Regions from separate parts of the Homo sapiens genome. Here all the other regions are linked to region 1. Evidence: promoter capture Hi-C in 16 types of primary human blood cells and fetal thymus (Javierre and others, 2016). All regions are on one chromosome and are shown on one strand. The core of a region is centred on a gene start or on the middle of the fragment in contact, and the rest is flanking DNA. Distances in the headings are between cores, read along the strand shown.

What was found. The method cuts DNA at HindIII sites, captures the fragments that hold promoters and counts their contacts. A CHiCAGO score of 5 or more calls a contact.
Region 2: a contact is called between a fragment that was not itself captured here and the fragment with the promoter of NEUROG2 in region 1, in 1 of 17 cell types (neutrophils). The highest score is 8.6, in neutrophils.
Region 3: a contact is called between a fragment that was not itself captured here and the fragment with the promoter of NEUROG2 in region 1, in 1 of 17 cell types (activated CD4 T cells). The highest score is 6.9, in activated CD4 T cells.
Region 4: a fragment that was not itself captured here is called in contact with the fragment with the promoter of NEUROG2 in region 1 in 6 of 17 cell types (fetal thymus, activated CD4 T cells, total CD4 T cells and 3 more); the score reaches 9.2 in fetal thymus.
Region 5: a contact is called between a fragment that was not itself captured here and the fragment with the promoter of NEUROG2 in region 1, in 8 of 17 cell types (neutrophils, monocytes, naive CD8 T cells and 5 more). The highest score is 11.2, in neutrophils.
Region 6: a fragment that was not itself captured here is called in contact with the fragment with the promoter of NEUROG2 in region 1 in 4 of 17 cell types (neutrophils, fetal thymus, total B cells and 1 more); the score reaches 7.6 in neutrophils.
Region 7: a contact is called between a fragment that was not itself captured here and the fragment with the promoter of NEUROG2 in region 1, in 5 of 17 cell types (activated CD4 T cells, total B cells, total CD4 T cells and 2 more). The highest score is 7.2, in activated CD4 T cells.

Annotation. Positions count from the first base shown.
Region 1 is chr4:112,514,859-112,517,621 of GRCh38, reverse strand. It overlaps NEUROG2 (neurogenin 2), which reads left to right and starts at 1,442. Exons shown (of 2, transcript NM_024019.4): 1 at 1,442-1,775; 2 at 2,146-2,763. The coding sequence starts at 2,147. NEUROG2-AS1 (NEUROG2 and ZGRF1 antisense RNA 1) reads right to left here and starts at 2,243. Exons shown (of 4, transcript NR_161159.1): 1 at 1,982-2,243. LOC124900760 (a long non-coding RNA gene) reads right to left here and starts at 817. Exons shown (of 2, transcript XR_007058231.1): 1 at 583-817. RefSeq lists enhancers at 221-340, 441-540, 1-671 and silencers at 681-960, 2,281-2,350, 2,611-2,763. The HindIII fragment of the contact is 11,776 bases long and covers 1-2,763 here.
Region 2 is chr4:112,026,462-112,029,224 of GRCh38, reverse strand. All of the region lies in intron 1 of LINC02945 (long intergenic non-protein coding RNA 2945), which reads left to right. Among named protein-coding and RNA genes, the nearest start is that of LINC02945, 84 kb to the left of the region's middle. The HindIII fragment of the contact is 6,342 bases long and covers 1-2,763 here.
Region 3 is chr4:112,053,150-112,055,912 of GRCh38, reverse strand. All of the region lies in intron 1 of LINC02945 (long intergenic non-protein coding RNA 2945), which reads left to right. Among named protein-coding and RNA genes, the nearest start is that of LINC02945, 58 kb to the left of the region's middle. The HindIII fragment of the contact is 1,058 bases long and covers 806-1,863 here.
Region 4 is chr4:112,090,217-112,092,979 of GRCh38, reverse strand. The region is part of intron 1 of LINC02945 (long intergenic non-protein coding RNA 2945); the gene reads left to right. Among named protein-coding and RNA genes, the nearest start is that of LINC02945, 21 kb to the left of the region's middle. The HindIII fragment of the contact is 2,975 bases long and covers 1-2,763 here.
Region 5 is chr4:112,117,886-112,120,648 of GRCh38, reverse strand. No RefSeq gene overlaps it. Among named protein-coding and RNA genes, the nearest start is that of LINC02945, 7.0 kb to the right of the region's middle. The HindIII fragment of the contact is 8,296 bases long and covers 1-2,763 here.
Region 6 is chr4:112,181,275-112,184,037 of GRCh38, reverse strand. All of the region lies in intron 1 of FAM241A (family with sequence similarity 241 member A), which reads right to left. Among named protein-coding and RNA genes, the nearest start is that of FAM241A, 37 kb to the right of the region's middle. The HindIII fragment of the contact is 1,987 bases long and covers 416-2,402 here.
Region 7 is chr4:112,252,585-112,255,347 of GRCh38, reverse strand. AP1AR (adaptor related protein complex 1 associated regulatory protein) reads right to left here. Exons shown (of 10, transcript NM_018569.6): 2 at 2,092-2,140; 3 at 575-601. Among named protein-coding and RNA genes, the nearest start is that of AP1AR-DT, 22 kb to the right of the region's middle. The HindIII fragment of the contact is 6,257 bases long and covers 1-2,763 here.

The DNA.
Region 1 (2,763 bases), core at 193-2,692:
AATTTGCAAAGGGGATCTCAAGGGACGCCACTCCGGTCTACTGAAGTCCGGATCCATCCCCATGTCGACAAGAGGGTGGGCATGAACGTGGGGAAAGTGGGGAGGGCTAACGAGCAATTGAGAACAAGTTTCCCCCGAGGTCCAGTAGCCCTTCAGCTCTTTTTTCTCATTGAAAAGCAGAATTGGGAAGATGGGCCCCTTGTCCCTACAACGCCCCCCAGCGCGGAGCAGAGGTCACAGAAATGTCAGCGCAGCGCATTTGCTTGCAGGAGCAGCAGCTCTGCCGCTCCTCCCGCTCGGTTCGCTGCCACCCACGCAGGAAGCCTCCTTGCTGTCCCTCCAGGCTATAAACTGGGTTAACCCCAGCAAAACCTGCATCAGTGCCCGGAGCCTCAGTTTCCTGTATGTAAAATGAGGGGGATCCTTTCAGCTCTAACATGTGAGTGATTTCATTCTCACATCCTCTAAAAGCTCATCAACTGCTCCCCTATCCGACCTCCCCTCCCAAGAGACGCCTGTTTGAATCCCCAGTGTCCTCTCCCTTCACTCTCCCACGCCAGTTTCGACGGACCCCAAACACACTTGTTCACGAGGTGTCCACATCTCTCCATCCACGCCATTCTCCTCCCCTAACCAAATGAATCCATTTTAAAATCGTTTACTATTTGATACAACCCCTAAGAGGCTTTGCCAAGAGACGCCCGGCAGCACCACAGGGCTAACTGCTTTCCCCGGGATTCTGACCCCCATTAACTAATTCCTAGTTCCCATCACCCGGGAGTTAGGAGGGCCGGCAGCGCCGGGTGCGGTGCCTGCGCGCGCGCCGGGCGGGGGGAGCCTCGGCGGCAGCGAGGACGAAGGCGGGGGCGGTAGCACGGGTCCCCCCATCCGCCCCCAGCGCTCGGGCCCCTAATGAGCTGCTGAAAGGGAGCGGGCTCCGGTGCGCGTGGCTCGCAGGCCTCCCGGAGTCCAGGGCGCCCTGATTGGCCAGCTGCGCCTCGCGACCTCCATTCATTAATAAATTAGCGGCACGCTCCAGCCGAGCGCGAGCCACCAATCACAATGGACAGCGGCGGCGACAACAGCCGCAGCTTGAGCCTCTGCGGCCGCTGCGGCTTCGCCAGCTCCGGCCGCAGCCCGGAGCTCCAACAGGAGCTTTAGAACCATTTTATGTTGATTAGATAAAGGGGGAAAAGAGAGGCGGGGGTGGTGGGAGGAGGAGGATGGATGGCAGGGCCAAGGGAGGGGGAAAGGCGGTGAAGAAAGAGGAAGAAATGAATGATGATAATGCAATGAAAAGAATAAGCCAGAGGAGGGAAAAGCGGGGGAGAAGGGGGGCAGGACTGACAGGAGGAGGAGGCGGTGGCGGGGGAGGAGGGGGCCCGGGGCAGATCTGATTGTTTTCTTGGTGGTATATAAGGGGTTTTAAGGAGAGTCGTGTGCCAGACACGCAGCCACTGAACCACAAGCAGCTTCGCGTTAACTGGAGTGCCTGGGAGTCGCGTGCCAGGAGCCGCACGGCCAGGGACTGACTGACAGACAGACACGCACCACCACCACAACACACGAGACCCGGGCGGGCCGCCGCCGCCGCCGCCGGGGCTCTTGGCAAACTCGCCGGTCGCAGAGGTCCCCCGCGGAGCTGCGCCACAGTAGCGCCGGGCTTGCAGCTTTCACGCCGGGCGAAGGACCCGGCGCTGCGCTCGCAGCTGCGCGGAGATTCCCGGCACAGGCCAAAGTCACAGCAACGCTGAGGCACAGTTAGAGCCAACTAAGTAAGTATTCGAGCCACCGCTTCCAACTACGCAGGTGGTTTCCCCGCACTCAGTCCAACCACACCCGCACGCCCTCTGCTCCGCGCAGAATCTTTGTCGCGGAGGCCGCAGTCCCTTCTCGGGGAGGGAACGCAGGACCGCCCGCGGAGGGCAGGACCCGGCTGACTGGCAGCAGGGTCACAGCGAGCGCTAGCGGCGCTCCTGACCTTGGTTAGCACTGCCTGGGTTTCTTCCTTCGCCTTCCTGCTCCGCGCCATTCGGAGCTGGTCTTCTCGGGTGCGCGCCGGAGCACGCCCCTGTGACACGAAGATCGCGCCTCTGTTTCTTTCCTTACACCTCACTGCCTTTTTCCCCTTTCTCTCTTCGGTAGGATGTTCGTCAAATCCGAGACCTTGGAGTTGAAGGAGGAAGAGGACGTGTTAGTGCTGCTCGGATCGGCCTCCCCCGCCTTGGCGGCCCTGACCCCGCTGTCATCCAGCGCCGACGAAGAAGAGGAGGAGGAGCCGGGCGCGTCAGGCGGGGCGCGTCGGCAGCGCGGGGCTGAGGCCGGGCAGGGGGCGCGGGGCGGCGTGGCTGCGGGTGCGGAGGGCTGCCGGCCCGCACGGCTGCTGGGTCTGGTACACGATTGCAAACGGCGCCCTTCCCGGGCGCGGGCCGTCTCCCGAGGCGCCAAGACGGCCGAGACGGTGCAGCGCATCAAGAAGACCCGTAGACTGAAGGCCAACAACCGCGAGCGAAACCGCATGCACAACCTCAACGCGGCACTGGACGCGCTGCGCGAGGTGCTCCCCACGTTCCCCGAGGACGCCAAGCTCACCAAGATCGAGACCCTGCGCTTCGCCCACAACTACATCTGGGCACTCACCGAGACCCTGCGCCTGGCGGATCACTGCGGGGGCGGCGGCGGGGGCCTGCCGGGGGCGCTCTTCTCCGAGGCAGTGTTGCTGAGCCCGGGAGGAGCCAGCGCCGCCCTGAGCAGCAGCGGAGA
Region 2 (2,763 bases), core at 101-2,600, 490 kb after region 1:
TTGCAAAGAGCATGGCACAGTGCTATTTGCTAAATAAAAATTATACATTTGGGTCTTTTCAATAATCCCATGAAGAAAGCAAGAAATATAGAAACAGAAGAGTTTTGCAACTGAAAAGACCTTAGAGTTTATCTGGTTCAAATCTCTTATGTTAAAGATGAAAAAGCACTTGAAGTGTTATTACTTAATAAAGTAATATAACTATTTAGAATCAAAATATAGTTTTCTTAATTTTCAGGCTGATTTTTTTTCTGCCACATCATTCTGATTTCTGAAAATAAATATAAGGAAGATGAATTCTTAAATAATTTTTCAGTTTTAGAACTGATAAATACAATAGAAATATTAGGAATGAGAGTTGTATAGATTATACAAAGGCATATCAATTTTCTCTAGTATCTGCTGCAATATAATTTTTCTACTAGCTGCATATAGAGCAAACCCCAAATACCTTAAATGAGATAGAAGTTTATTTCTCTTCTGTCTTGTTATCTGTGAGAGAAACACAGATAAGAGAGTCTAGGACTTTTATGGGGACTCTATGGTCAACAGAGACCTGGGCTCCTTCTGCTATTGTATTTCGCCATTCTATGAATGGCTTTCATTCTCAAGGTTACCTCTTGGTCCAAAATGGCTGTTGGAAATTCTACCCTCCCATCAGCATTCTGGAATGCAGGTAGGAGGAAGGGAGAAACGACAAACAGGTGTTCTGTTTTGTTTTTCAAATGTGAGTTAGTGTTCTTTCAACAGTCTTCTAGGATGCCCCATGTCACCTTTGACTTTATCTTATCAGCCAGAACTTAGACACATGTCATGCCTAGCTGCAAGGGAGACTGACAAGTGCTTTCAACCAATTAGCAATTAAAATTGTGGGTTTTCCCATTGAGAAAAAAGGAGTAATAGATATGGGGATGGTAACTGATATTGTTTGTCTGTGTCTGCACCCAAATCTCATCTTGAATTGTAGCTCCCATAATTCCCACATGTTGTGGAGGGGACCCGGTGGGAAATAATTGAATCATGGGGGTGGTTTCCCCTATACTGTTCTAGTGAACAAGTCTCAAGAGATCTGATGGTTTTATAAGAGGAAACCCCTTTCGCTTGGTTCTCATTCTTTCTCTTGTTTGCCACCATGTAAGATGTGTCTTTTGCCTTCTACCATGATTGTGAGGCTTCCCCAGCCAGGTGGAACTGTGAGTCCATTAAACCTCTTTTATTTTTATTTTTTTAATAAATTACCCAGTCTCTATCAGCAGAGTGAAAACAGACTAATACAGTAATTAACCATTTCTGCTACCAGTAGGGGTTCATTTTTCCATCTCTTTTCCTCTTCACATTTCTTTTTCTCTTGCCATGAATCCAAAAGAGCAGACTTGGACTAAGACAAACCACACATTCATGCAGGAGAAAAGAAAATTTCTCTTTCTAAAAAGATGTTGCATCCATATATTAGGATATTGCTGCAAGAAACAAGTCAATTCACTCTGGACTAGTAGGAAAAAAGAACTCTATTATAAATTAGAATGATATTTAATTAAAATCAAACAAAAGAATGAAGAAATTCTAAGAAAGATCAGAAATTGAGAACAAGTTGGAAATACAGGCAGTGTTTTCTTTCAATTTCTTGTTATTGTTTCTTTCTGCATATGATTCTTCTTTTTCTTTTAAGATCCGTTTCCTCTGTGCCCAAGGTCAAATTGCCAGTGAGGAACAAATTGAGATTTACACCTAGATCTTCTAACTCACACTATTATATTCATTATATTTTAAAGTTCTCTCCCTCCTCCTTTGACAGATAGCAAGAGGGTCTCTTTTCCTTACCGATTCACTGTCATCTCTTGATTATAGTCACTTCTGATGTATCTGACCACAATAACTGCCTGTTTGGATCACAATCCTCAAATCTGACATTCAGAAATGCTTATGGGTTCCATAATACCGCTTGGCATTGCACACTAAGCAATATTGTTCTTGCTCAAGTTCTTCTCTTCTCAAGCAATGTATCTTCATTGATATCAAATGTTTCCACTGCCACATCACACTGATGACTCCCAAACACACATTTCCATTTTAGACCTCCCTCCTGAATTCACGGTCCTTATTTTTGTATGATTATTGGTCATTTTTCATTTGAGTGTTTCTTAGTATCCATAGTACCTTCAAATTCAACACATCCATGATCTCATCTTGAATTCTCTATTTTAAAGTGTATCAGTCCAAGCATCCAATAATCTTCCTGCCTCTTCACTTCTGCTGTCAGTTAATTACAAAGTCCTTCAGAATCTGTTACCTAAAGCTCTTATTTCTTATGTGTATTGCCTTAATACCCTTGTAATCTTGTTTTTGTACAATCTCAGCTGCCTTCTAAATCTTCTCCCAGTCTTCAGTCTTGTCTATCCTCTGCATTGTCTCAAGAGTAATCTTTTAACTCTATAAACATGATTATGTCACTTCCCTACTTAAATTTCATCAGCATTTTCCATTTACCTGTAGAACAATGGCCAAATGCCTTGCTGGCCATTTAAGGCTATTTATTATCTGATTTCTTCTTACCTAGCCAATCTCATCTTGGCCTTTTAGAACTATCTAAAATTTCCTAAATAAAACAACAAAGTTCACACTTCTGTGATATTGCACATGATTTTCATTTCCCTTCACCTTAAACACCCTTACTCTTCTCAGTCCTCTTAGTGAGCTTCTACTCACCTTATGAAACTCAGTTCAAACATCAGTTCTTCTCTGAAGGCCTCTCTGATCAGCACG
Region 3 (2,763 bases), core at 85-2,584, 460 kb after region 1:
TTTTCAGTAATACAGAATTTCAAGATGGCAATGTCATAATAGTTGATATAAAGAGCTATAATTGATACTATAGTTTAATCAGAAAGAGGTCTTTTAGGAGTTAAGTATGGTATGCTTTCCTTTAAGGACTCTACTTCATAAAAATTCAAATGATTAAGATTCAAAGATTCAAAACACTTAGATAAGTTACATATCACTCATACTTTGAAATGTTTCCCATTAAGAAAAAAATTGATTTTGTGGGACTTGGCCATCTCTTCCAGGTTGCATTCTGTGTTTTCAGAAGCTGCTAGGACTCCTTTCTATTTTTTTTATGAGTAACTTTGTACTAGCAAACTTAAATATTTATCTACACTTTTTTCAAATGGCTAATATTCACTAAAGTGACACTTTAAAACAAAGAAAAATGGAGAATAATTGCTCCTTAGTTTTTGCTGGTCCTAAATAGCAAAAACTTATTATTAAGTATGAGTGGGTGAAAAGCTTAAACCAAACCAAAACAAAACAAAACAAAAAAAGCCTTGACAAAAGCACAAGAAATAAAGAATGAAGAACTGATACCTTCCTTTAGAAGGAACTGTAGCCCTGTAGCACCCAATGCTCTCTAATGCCATCAGCCAATTAGGAGCTGCCCTGAAGCCAAAGCTTGAGAAAATGCAGTGGAATTGGTTTAGTGGTGTTAATGGCCTGAAGGTAGCAAGAATTGCTGCTTAGTTCAAGAAGGTGGAAATTGACTACTCAATTTGGTGTGGTAATTAGGTCCTTAACTGATTTTTCTAAATTTGTCTATTTTTAACTGGAAGCTTTTTGTGCCAGTCTAAAAAATCAAACAAGGTTTAAACGGAATTCTTAAATATGCAAAAAAAATTGTGTTTTCTTCCTCCCCCATTAAAAAAAAAACCTCTCACTAAAATTAATTTAACTTTATATCTCTGCCTTCTTTGGAAATGCTTTTTCCCCAATGTTTCTGTATTTAATTCTTTCATAGCATGCAGTTTATCATTAACTTTGCTTCTAAAAAGTCACTTATATTTTTCTTAAGATATTGAGACTTACCAGATCATGAAGATTCATAGAAAGCTGTTTGTCAGCTTTTAAGTCCTGGCTTTAGTTTTAGGAACTCTGTGTTTTTTCCATTTCTCATTAACAGATTGATAAGGCAGGTATCCTATGTTAACTATTTTTAAAACTATGTTTAAAAAATTTTAAAAACATTTTTGTAGTTGTTTGAAATTTGCACAGATCATCTTTTAAAAATTTTAACCACCATAGCATCATCTAGTGGACCAATTACATAGCTGTAGGGATCAAACCTATTAGACGCGATAAACAATATAATTCCTTCTGTCATTTTGGTTATGATAAAGACCTTAAGGTGCTTTCAATACTAGGGTAAAATTAATTTTTGTATTCTACTATCCTACTGAAAAAATAATAAATATTCAATAGTTAATTTTAGGAGTCAATCCAAAGGTTAACCCAATAAATCTGAGGTTATTGTAATAAATAATTCAAACCATGACGAGCCAGTAGAAACAGATGGTGCTTCTGGAAGAACTTGAAAATTTTCCACTCTTAAATGAACATAAACCTTCTGCTTGGAGCTGTGCAACTACATGAACTTCTGTGCAGGCCTGTAAATCTATGAGGTTACTTTTTTTGTGGTCTTGAGTCACATTCTTTTAATTTGATGCTTCTCAAGGTATGGAAAGCAAAGGCTAACTCAAAACACAAGAGAACAAGTTCTGGTTATTCTCACTTTGTATTGCTATCTTTCCTCTTCCTGCAATTGCTTCCTGCTCCTCAGTTTTGCATGTAAGAATGTGTATTCCAGTAAGAGGACAAAAGGCATTTTAGCAAGCTTTTATTATACCTAAGCCTGGATTTAACTCCCTCAATAACTGAATAGGCATATAATCCCATGGATTTCTTAAGGTAGTGAGTTGAGTCTAGGTGAATTACAACATTTTTTTTTTCCTGAGCTTTTTCAAATGATTAGCAACACTTCCGCGGACAATTGTGTTTGAAGGGTTACAACTGGCTTTGATGAATAATCTGAAGCAGAGAGCAAGTAAATATGCAAGAAAAGAAAGAAAATGAAAATGAAAGAAGAGAAAAGAAAATAAAGTGAATGCATGTGATAGCACCCTGTTTTTGACCATATATTTATGCTGATAGGTTGATTTCTTTTGACCAAAAAAGATGTTGATAAAGCTGTAAATTTAAGATGTGGTTGAAGATGAGCTTGTCAAGAGTATTTTGTTTTCAATGAGAGATAAGTCATTGACTCATAAAAATTGTATTAGAAGTAAATACAGGATATGTAGTTGTCATCTAATTTATATTGGTTCGATTTTATTTCTTTCAATTTTTATTGTTAATTTTTTGTAACTGTCCATCTTTTACTTATATATAATTGAACATATCACTTCATAAGGAAATGCAATTACTTACACAAATACCTTGTCTGAATATTTCTGCACTAACAAGTTGCTGACACTAAAAAATACAAGGATTCACCAAATGCTGGCCAGAATGTGGAGAAACTGGATCATTTGTACATTACTAGTGGGAACGTAAAATGTACAGCCACTTTGGAAAACAATTTGGCAGTTTCTTAAAAACACTAAACTTGCAACTACTACACGACCCAGCGATTGTGCTCCTGGGCATTTATCCCAGACAAATAAGATCTTATGTTCCCAAAAAATCTTTCCATGACTGTTTATCATAGCTTTATTTGTAATGGCCAAAACTGGAAAC
Region 4 (2,763 bases), core at 121-2,620, 420 kb after region 1:
AGCAATAGAAAATGGACTAACACACATGCCTATATGCTTTTAGAAAGCTGTGCAACCTGGAACTAGCATCAGATTTTCTGGTAAAATTTGTACTAAACTACTACTACTTAGACCACAGGTTCTAGATAGCAATGACTTGGTATCCTATATGCCCACATGCATTTATGCAAGAACATGAAGGCAGTCCAAAGATGCAGAGTATCAGGAAGAGAGCTCTGGGATCAACATTCAGGAAGGGACAAGCTATTATCTCAGCACTGCTTTCCCTGAAGGATGACCATAATGAAAGAGGAAGGTAATGCAGGAGTCTACCTCATCAGAGGTAATGTTGAATAAATGCCAATTACTACTCACAGCTCCTAAGAGGACCTAGTGTTGGCTACTATCTCATACCAGTAGAAGCATAACTTGATTTAACGATTTAAAAGGGCAATTTTATTTTATTTTATTTTTTTATTTTTTTATTTTTATTTTAATTTTTTTATTTTTTTAATATACTTTAAGTTTTAGGGTACATGTGCATATTGTGCAGGTTAGTTACATATGTATACATGTGCCATGCTGGTGTGCTGCACCCACTAACTCGTCATCTAGCATTAGGTATATCTCCTAATGCTATCCCTCCCCCCTCCCCCCACCCCACCACAGTCCCCAGAGTGTGATATTCCCCTTCCTGTGTCCATGTGATCTCATTGTTCAATTCCCACCTATGAGTGAGAATATGCTGTGTTTGGTTTTTTGTTCTTGAGATAGTTTACTGAGAATGATGATTTCCAATTTCATCCATGTCCCTACAAAGGACATGAACTCATCATTTTTTATGGCTGCATAGTATTCCATGGTGTATATGTGCCACATTTTCTTAATCCAGTCTATCATTGTTGGACATTTGGGTTGGTTCCAAGTCTTTGCTATTGTGAATAATGCCGCAATAAACATACGTGTGCATGTGTCTTTATAGCAGCATGATTTATAGTCCTTTGGGTATATACCCAGTAATGGGATGGCTGGGTCAAATGGTATTTCTAGTTCTAGATCCCTGAGGAATCGCCACACTGACTTCCACAATGGTTGAACTAGTTTACAGTCCCACCAACAGTGTAAAAGTGTTCCTATTTCTCCACATCCTCTCCAGCACCTGTTGTTTCCTGACTTTTAAATCATCGCCATTGTAACTGGTGTGAGATGGTATCTCATTGTGGTTTTGATTTGCATTTCTCTGATGGCCAGTGATGATGAGCATTTTTTCATGTGTTTTTTTGGCTGCATAAATGTCTTCTTTTGAGAAGTGTCTGCTCATGTCCTTCGCCCACTTTTTGATGGGGTTGTTTGTTTTTTTCTTGTAAATTTGTTTGTGTTCATTGTAGATTCTGGATATTAGCCCTTTGTCAGATGAGTAGGTTGCGAAAATTTTCTCCCATTTTGTAGGTTGCCTGTTCACTCTGATGGTAGTTTCTTTTGCTGTGCAGAAGCTCTTTAGTTTAATTAGATCCCATTTGTCAATTTTGGCTTTTGTTGCCATTGCTTTTGGTGTTTTGGACGTGAAGTCCTTGCCCATGCCTATGTCCTGAATGGTAATGCCTAGGTTTTCTTCTAGGGTTTTTATGGTTTTAGGTCTAACGTTTAAGTCTTTAATCCATCTTGAATTGATTTTTGTATAAGGTGTAAGGAAGGGATCCAGTTTCAGCTTTCTCCATAAGGCTAGCCAGTTTTCCCAGCACCATTTATTCAATAGGGAATCCTTTCCCCATTGCTTGTTTTTCTCAGGTTTGTCAAAGATCAGATAGTTGTAGATATGCGGCGTTATTTCTGAGGGCTCTGTTCTGTTCCATTGATCTATATCTCTGTTTTGGTACCAGTACCATGCTGTTTTGGTTACTGTAGCCTTGTAGTATAGTTTGAAGTCAGGTAGTGTGATGCCTCCAGCTTTGTTCTTTTGGCTTAGGATTGCCTTGGTGATGCGGGCTCTTTTTTGGTTCCATATGAACTTTAAAGTAGTTTTTTCCAATTCTGTGAAGAAAGTCGTTGGTAGCTTTATGGGGATGGCATTGAATCTGTAAATTACCTTGGACAGTATGGCCATTTTCACGATATTGATTCTTCCTACCCATGAGCATGGAATGTTCTTCCATTTGTTTGTATCCTCTTTTATTTCCTTGAGCAGTGGTTTGTAGTTCTCCTTGAAGAGGTCCTTCACATCCCTTGTAAGTTGGATTCCTAGGTATTTTATTCTCTTTGAAGCAATTGTGAATGGGATTTCACTCATGATTTGGCTCTCTGTTTGTCTGTTATTGGTGTATAAGAATGCTTGTGATTTTTGTGCATTGATTTTGTATCCTGAGACTTTGCTGAAGTTGCTTATCAGCTTAAGGAGATTTTGGGCTGAGACAATGGGGTTTTCTAGATATACAATCATGTCTTCTGCAAACAGGGACAATTTGACTTCCTCTTTTCCTAATTGAATACCCTTTATTTCCTTCTCCTGCCTAATTGCCCTGGCCAGAACTTCCAACACTATGTTGAATAGGAGTGGTGAGAGAGGGCATCCCTGTCTTGTGCCAGTTTTCAAAGGGAATGCTTCCAGTTTTTGCCCATTCAGTATGATATTGGCTGTGGGTTTGTCATAGATAGCTCTTATTATTTTGAGATACGTCCCATCAATACCTGATTTATTGAGAGTTTTTAGCATGAAGCGTTGTTGAATTTTGTCAAAGGCTTTTTCTGCATCTATTGAGATAATCATGTGGTTTTTGTCTTTGGTTC
Region 5 (2,763 bases), core at 139-2,638, 400 kb after region 1:
CCAGCCTGGGTGACAGAGCAAGACTCCATCACCTCACCCCACCTGCCAAAAAAAAAAAAAAAAAAAACAAAACAAAAAGAAAGAAGATGCGTGAACAGTTGAAGGCCAAGAGCACAAAATTACAAAGTTTTGACACTGTCAAATGACAGAAGAGTTAACAACAACCAAAAAAACAAGGGTAGAAAGATTATTGAACCCAATAGAATGCTTTTGTTGCAGTATAAAATGGAATTTAAACTGGCTAAACAAAAGAGATTTATTTGTTTGCGAATTAAATAGTGAAGATGTAGAACCATCTTCAAGAGTGGCCTCATCAATCTTTCTCTGGGATTCTGTGGGCCTTGCCATCCCCCATGTGTTATGTTTATCCTCAGGCTAGGCCAGGGGGTCATTTCCTGGGGAAGAGAACATGTAGTTCCTGAAGGGTTGATTGAAAGGCTTGTGGTTTGCCTTGATTAGCTTACTTCTGGACCAATCACTGTAGCTAGGGGGAGTGACTTGCACTGTAGAAGGAGATAGTATAATTGTTTTTTAATGCCTTATGATATGTTTGGCTGTGTCCCCACCCAAATCTCATCTTGAATTGCAACTCCCACAATTCCCACATGTCACAGGAGGAACCCGGTGGGAGGTGATTGAATTATGGGGGCAGGTCTTTCCTGCACTGTTCTCATGGTAGTGAATGAGTCTCACAAGGTCTGATGGTTTTAAAAATGGGAGTTTCCTTACACAAGCTCTCTTTTTTGCCTGCCGCCATCCATGTAAGACGTGACTTGCTCCTCCTTGCCTTCTGCTATGATTGTGAGGCTTCCCCAGCCATGTGGAACTGTATGTCCATTACATGTCTTTTTTGTAAATTGCCCAGTCTCAGGTATGTCTTTATCAGCAGCATAAAAATGGACTAATACACCTCCCAAAACCCATGGCTGCTAAATAGTGGGGGAAGAGTGAGTCATCACTTGAGTAGACTGCAACTCCAGGCCTACATAATCTTAATGCCTACTGATCTCTTGTTTCTTCCAGAAAAAGCTCCAGGGAGGGCTTTGGAGGGATTGGTCCATGTGCTCTTTCTTGAACCAATATTAGGTTTAAGGGGGATAGGCCAGACTTGTGTGTTAGCTGCCGGAGGTGAATGGGAACGGTCAGCACCACACAAACAACATGGAACGAACTCCTTATAGTCACCACAGTCCCTTCAGTGGGTTTCCTGGATTAGTGATAGTGATACCACAGTTATAAAATAGTTTCCATTTTCTGCTCCAGAGAATGATTTTATTTTCATTTTCATTCTTTGTAGAGCTTCTTATTTATGTGTTTTTATAATCTGTTGACTTGGTTTTTTAAAAACTAATTTTCCTTTCATTTTCATGTAAAGGATCAGTGATATCTTTCTTGGTAATCTGCAAATTCCTCCAAAGCAGGTGTCCTCTTCTTTTCTCTCTTCTCTCTTCTCTCTTTCCTCCTCTCCTCTCCTCTCCTCTCCCCTCCCCTCCCCTCCCCTCTCTTCTCTCCCCTCCCCTCTCCTCCCCTCTCCTCCCCTCCTCTCCTCTACCCTCCCCTCCCCTCTCCCCTCTCCTCTCCCCTCTCCTCCCCTCTTCCCTCCCCTCTCCTCTCCCGTCCCCTCCCCTCCTCTCCTGTTTCCTTCTCCCTTCCCTTCCCTTTCCTCTTCCCTTCCCTTCCCTTTCCTTTTCCCTTCCCCCTTCCCCCATCCCTTCCCTTCCTTCTTCTTTTGTTTATCTTTAAGACTTTTACTACCACTTCAATCATGGATTTTTAGTAGTATGCTAGAGCTGGTTCTTTCTGGCTCTCTAGGGTCAAGAGCTAAATGTTCAGAAACTTTTTGAGTTGGTTGTTAAACCATTAGTGCCTTAAAATTGTCCCTGGGGGAGTATTTATACCATGGAAATTGAAAATGCTACAAATCAGGACTCTTCTTCCTCAGCCAGTTAGCTGTAAACCACTAATCTCATGTCAAAATATATTATAATAAAAGGCTTTTCCTGTGTTATAATTCATCCTCTAGGAAGTAAATTGTAATTCCAGTTTCCAAATTCTGTCTGTATTGTGTTTAAAGATTTAAAAGAATAAAATTATTAGGAGATTAAGTATAATTTTTCACATAATATTGAGCCCATTATATTTTTTTCTGATTTCAAAACCTGAGAGTCTTAAAAAAATAAAAAGACAAGCCACAAATTGGAAGAACATATTTGCAAGTACTATATCTGGTAAACTATTTGCATCCAGACTACATAAGGGATATTTATAACTCAATAACTAGAAGATAAACTATCCAACTAAAAAATAGGGAAAAGAGCTGGGTGTGGTAGCTCATGCCTGTAATCCCAGCACTTTGGGAGGCTAAGGTGGGAGAATTGCTGGGGCCCAGGAGTTTGAGATCAGCCTGGGTAACAGAGCAAGACCTCATGTCTCTTAAAAAAAAAAACAAAAAACAAAACAAAATGAAACAAATATATATGTGTGTGTGTGTGTGTGTGTGTATGTGTATATATATGTGTGTGTATATATATATGTATGTATATATATAGAGAGAGAGGCAAAAGATACGTATAGACTTTTTTTTTGGAACAGAGTCTTACTCTGTTGCCCAGGCTGGAGTGCAGTGGCACAATCTCAGCTCACAGCAACCTCTGCCTCCTGGGTTCAAGCGATTCTCCTGCCTCAGCCTCTGGAGTAGCTGGGACTACAGGCATGTGCCACCACACCTGGCTAATTTTTGTATTTTTTAGTAGAGATGAGGTT
Region 6 (2,763 bases), core at 160-2,659, 330 kb after region 1:
TGATAGTTTTCTCTTAAGTTATAATTTGTGGATCTTTTCTTTTTTTAAAAAATTGATTTCTAAATTATTTTTTCCTTCACTGATATATTATGACTGGGTCAATTTTATGTTTCTTGTACTTTGATATGATCCATAACAATATACTACATTTTAAAAAAACCCTTATTCTTGCCTAATATTAAAGCTTTCTTTTCTTTAGGGTAGAACTTGAAGAGTCCTCGATTTAGTATGTAATTCTGCTGATCCCTCATCCCTCTCTATTTCTCCAGTGTTCAGCATGTTGATACTGTTTCTGGCCTTTTTTTCTTCATTTTTTATTAAAGTTCTTAAAAAAATTTTTTTTTTTACTCTTCCCAATTTCTTGTAATCTATGCACTCATTGTACTTTGGGGTTTTTTTTGTTGTTACTGAAGCTTTTTAAGACTTTTTTTTTCAGTATTTTTGTGGTTTTAGTACGAAGAAAGTACCCTAATCTGGATGTGGTAGGTACTGTCTGAAGGTTTAAATTCTTTGTAAAATAAATTAAATCTACAAATGCTTGTGGGTTTTTCAGGGGAAGAAGGAGGTGTTGCAACACTTAAATCAAAACAGAGAGTTAGTAAATCAGGCCAGGCGAGGAGACAGCAATGCTCACATTATCTCAGATCTTGAGATCAGCTGGTGGGATTGAGACTGGAAGCTGAAGACCCAGTAAGGACAGGTCTGGGCAAGCTGTGGCTGTTGCAGCCTGCTTCTTCTTCTTTTTTTTTAATTATAAAAAAATTTAAGCACACACAAAACTAGAGAAAATAGTATAATAAACCTATATACGTATCAACCAGATTCAGTAATTTCTAAAACTTTGCCACCTTACTGAAATACTTCTTAATCTGGGTAATCTGATGAAGAAGAAAAAAGTTTAAAAAAAAATCACTAGGCTAATGCCTAAAAGTAACATATCTTCACAAATGAAGTTCTGTAGAAACATCAAATATATCCAGCAATGAATTGGATAGGGGGTTCAAACAACCCTAAAGGAAGACATTTAAGAATGTGGAAAGGGTGTCAGTTTCCAGGCAGGCAAAAGAAAAAAAAAAAAAGAACGTGGAAAAGGAAAATGATCAATATTCTTCAATCAGTGAGATTATAGTCAATCTCATTACAGTATTTTATGTATCTAGGATATCCTCTCAAATAACACAGTTCTAAAGGATACAAAGACTGGTGTGTTGGTAAATGTTTAACAATGGGCTTTGTTGGGGGTTGGGGGAAGCTCTATTTTACAGCGTTTGCCAATTCTGTTGTGATTTCCAATTTCTGTAGTGTTAGTACTTCCACTGTGGCCAATTTCAAACTATTAACAGCCAGCTCAAAAAGTTCCTGAAAATTTAACAACTTGCTCTTTGACGATTGGTAGGAGCCAGCACCAGCACTTCACTGTAGGAATAAGAGATACTTGAAATAAGTTGAGGTAAAGGCCTGCACGGTTATAGTCGATGAGTTTGATCCCTCCCTTCTTTCCACCAACTGGTGCATTTCTATTTTTTTTTTTTTAAGTTTACAACATTGACAAGCTGAGATAATTAAGTAGAATTAACTTATTACAAATATATTGCAAGTGGGTAAATTGTATTAAGAAAGGACTATATTATGACTTGAGTTATGAGATACAATGAAATGCATGTGGTGTCACAAAACTACTACAAGTAACAACATATTGCTTTTTCTGGATTGTCTCATGCAGCTATCAAAAGGTCATCCGATTCAATTATTTTTAGAAGTTCTTGTTTACAATAAAATTTAAACCATCTGGCTGATTTGTGAGGACGAGGGCTCTCTTGATGCTCCCTAGGTCAGTGAATGGTACCACCATCCATATGCCACATCCAAAGGTCAGAACTCTAAGGCATTCTTGACCCCCTCCCTCTCCCTCTTCCCCATGACCCACATCCAGCTCATCACCATATTCTCTTTGTTTTACCTTCTAAGTATTTCTTTAAAGTGTATATACTATTCCATCTACTGCTATAATCCTAAGAGTCTACTAAGATCTCTTGACTATTCCAATAGTTTCCTAACACTGCTACTGCACAAGTCCATTAGCTCCCCTATAATCTATATACCACAATGTAGCCACAGTGGTTCTTTCCAAGTGCAAATTCAATCATGCCACCTCCATCCTGCTTTTAGGATTAAGGCCAAAATCTTTAACATGATCTATGAGGCCCTGCTTAGTCTGGCTTCTATCTGGGTCTCTGGCCTCATTCTGTCATCAGCCTTCCTGTCTTTATTTCAGCCACAGAGGTCTTTCAGCTCTTGCTCGCCACAGGGATTTGCACGTGCTCTTTTCTCTGCTCAAAAAACTATTTCCTCTCTCCTTTGCTTAGTTAAGGCATCCTCTCCTTTTGGTCTTAGCTTAAGCTTCAACTCAGTCTCACAGCATCAGGTAATGCTCTTTCAATGCATTCTGACTCAATGCCAATGTGTGTCATTATTTGATTAATGTCTACCTGTACTATAAACTTCATGAACTAGGAACAGTATTTATTTTTGCTGGCCACTGATATCCTCTGATATGAATATGTAGCAAACGCTATGTCCTGAAAATAGCAGCATATAGAAACATCTCAATAAATATTTGTTGAATAAACAGGAAGAAATTATCATGTATTTTTCTGGCAGGCATTAGAGAAGTATTTGATAGATTTTCTACTTTGCTCCTTTTTTTTTTTGGCCAAACCAAAGATGGGCACTATTTTCCAAAATATTATTTACTACAGTAAT
Region 7 (2,763 bases), core at 185-2,684, 260 kb after region 1:
ACTTTCTGAAGTTCCTTGGGTTTCTGTATAACGCTTTAAATCCTGTGTGTGTATATAGTGTATCTTAGATAGTAAAAAAATTCGGAATTGGCTGGGCGCGGTGGCTCACACCTGAAATCCCAGCACTTTGGGAGGCCGAGGCTGGCGGATCACGAGGTCAGGAGATCGAGACCATCCTGGCTAACATGGTGAAACCCCGTCTCTACTAAAAATACAAAAAATTAGCCGGGCGTAGTGGCGGGCGCCTGTAGTCCCAGCTACTTGGGAGGCTGAGGCAGGAGAATGGCGTGACCCGGGAGGCGGAGCTTGCAGTGAGCCGAGATCCCGCCACTGCACTCCAGCCTGGGAGACAGAGCGAGACTCCGTCTCAAGAAAAAAAAAAAATTCGGAATTATTTTCTAATATAAATTAGTAAAAGAAGGAAATAATAAAGAACTAAAAAGTAAAAATAAAAACCAGAAAATAAAAATTCTAAAACAAAAATAATAAAAATTGTAAACGTAATTGTTAGAACTAATGAGACGATTAATGAGAAAAACAAATACAAGTTTTGTACTATTATGGAAATACTTACTTCATCACTTTCTACTAGATTCTCAAACTGAAAGGACAAAAAAGTAAGCGTTAAGAGGAATATTTGTCTTAGGTATACATCTCACAAGAAATTATGTTACTTTTTTCACTTAAAAATAATATACCTTTATATTTGTAAGCTATTTAATTCAAATGCCTCTTTAATACATCATTTCATTTGATATATTTAACAGTCCTACAAAATGGCCAAGACAAGCATATACTATTTTAATTTATGACTTTCTATGAATGAAAATCAAACAGGAGAATTATAGCAATTTTCTACATAAATCAGAACTAAAACTTTCATCTGAATTGAATATTTCATACAAGTAATTTCATTCCATGCTACCAGAATATTCCACTTCACTTGACTACAGAACAAATGTTGTAAGAAGGAAAATTATTCAAGGAATGGGGACTAAAAGATACCAAATAAGAATTTCCCCACGTTTATATTTATCCGTCTATTCATTCATATAGTTATTTACTGAAAATCTACTAAGTGGTAGTTACTATCCCCAAATACAATGTCTTTCTAGAGATAGGAATGTAAACAGTTTGATCATAATGTGCTTAACACTATTATGTCAGTGACCTAATAAAAGTCATTACTATTATATCACTAAAGTGTTTTTATTTTAAATATAAATAACTTGATAAGTAACCACCTGAAATAAAAGGTGTTTTATTGTTAATACTGTTTGGCTTAAAGATTGAGAGAAAACAATGAATTCAAAAGGTTTAGAAAATTAAGGAATCTCTCTGAAAAAAGAATAAAACTGTTAAAGTTATTATCTTTATCTTTTTTTATATTAGTTTGTGATTTTTAAATATCTAATTCCTGCCTTACACATTTCCTTATTAATATAGAAGGCCATAAAGTACAGTGTTCCAGCTTTGAAGCCAGGCAGTTTGGACTAGAATTTAGGTTTTGCCACTTAATAGGTTGTGTAATATAGCCCAATTTCTCCACCTGTCTAAGCCTCTGATTTTTCATCCATGAAACAGGGTGACCACCACCTGTTTACAAGAGAGTTGTGATGACATTCTTAATTTGTATGGTGGAGTGGCTAGTTTATAGTAGGTAAGGAATAAATGGTAGTTTCTATTATTATATTTTACATTCAAAGAAAAAGTGACTCGGTCATTCTGCTGTGGAGTTGCTTAAACTCAACTTCCTGCTTTGTTTCTGGACTCCCCCCTGCTGGGGCAGGCCAACCACCTCTCGTTATACCCTAGTGAGCCACTATTACTGACAGAAGAGTACCTTCTCCCTGACTTATAGGGTGGGGGAAAAAGCTATTAGAAAAACAGAACCATAATCCTCTGCAAACTTCTTCCTACTCATTCCTTCCCTCACTGCTCCAACTCTTTCAATCTTCACTAACATGAATAATATTGAAATATAAACAGTCCATTCTAAATTTGGGTCCAGATCTTTCCCTCTTTACAACAAAAAGCCCCTTCCGCCTTTCTGAAGGCATTTTTAATTCAATCAAATTAAGGACTACTTACCTCTATTGTTAAGTGCTCACCTCTTGAGCATGTTCTAAAATACTTGGATCTGGGAAGGAAAACAGAATAACTTTAAAAAACACAATTAACTCTAAGATTGAATTAATATATAGCATAAAAACATTTATTTCCTCAAGAGCAACTTTAAAATCTCTAACATATAGTTATATTTATAAAAAAAGAACAACAAAATTTACCTAAGACTATAAAAAGTCCAGATTTTTAAACTTCATTATGACTTTGTTTAGTCAATCAATATTTCTTTCTATTGGCACTAACACTTACTAAATCTGTAATAATTAATTTACTATATTTACTACATTGAGTAGAATACATTTTAAAATGTATCTCATTATTTTTACTACATCAAGAAAAGTACCTCGTTAAAAAATACTGATGTGTTAAATAATATATAAAAAGAATATGTTCTCAATTTTGTTAAAAATACACAGAACATTAAGTATCTAAAAGTATATATGTCAATATGCTAAGAGTAGTTATCTTTGGTGGTGGAATCACGTGTCTTTATTCAAGACTTTTGTTATCTTCCCATGCCCTCACAAATAAAAGAGAAAAACAATGCATATACATGTCAATCAAACAATCCATTACATTATTTTTTCCAACTAGGGCCAAATATTGACTTTATTTTAATCATTCTTTCCTGCTCCT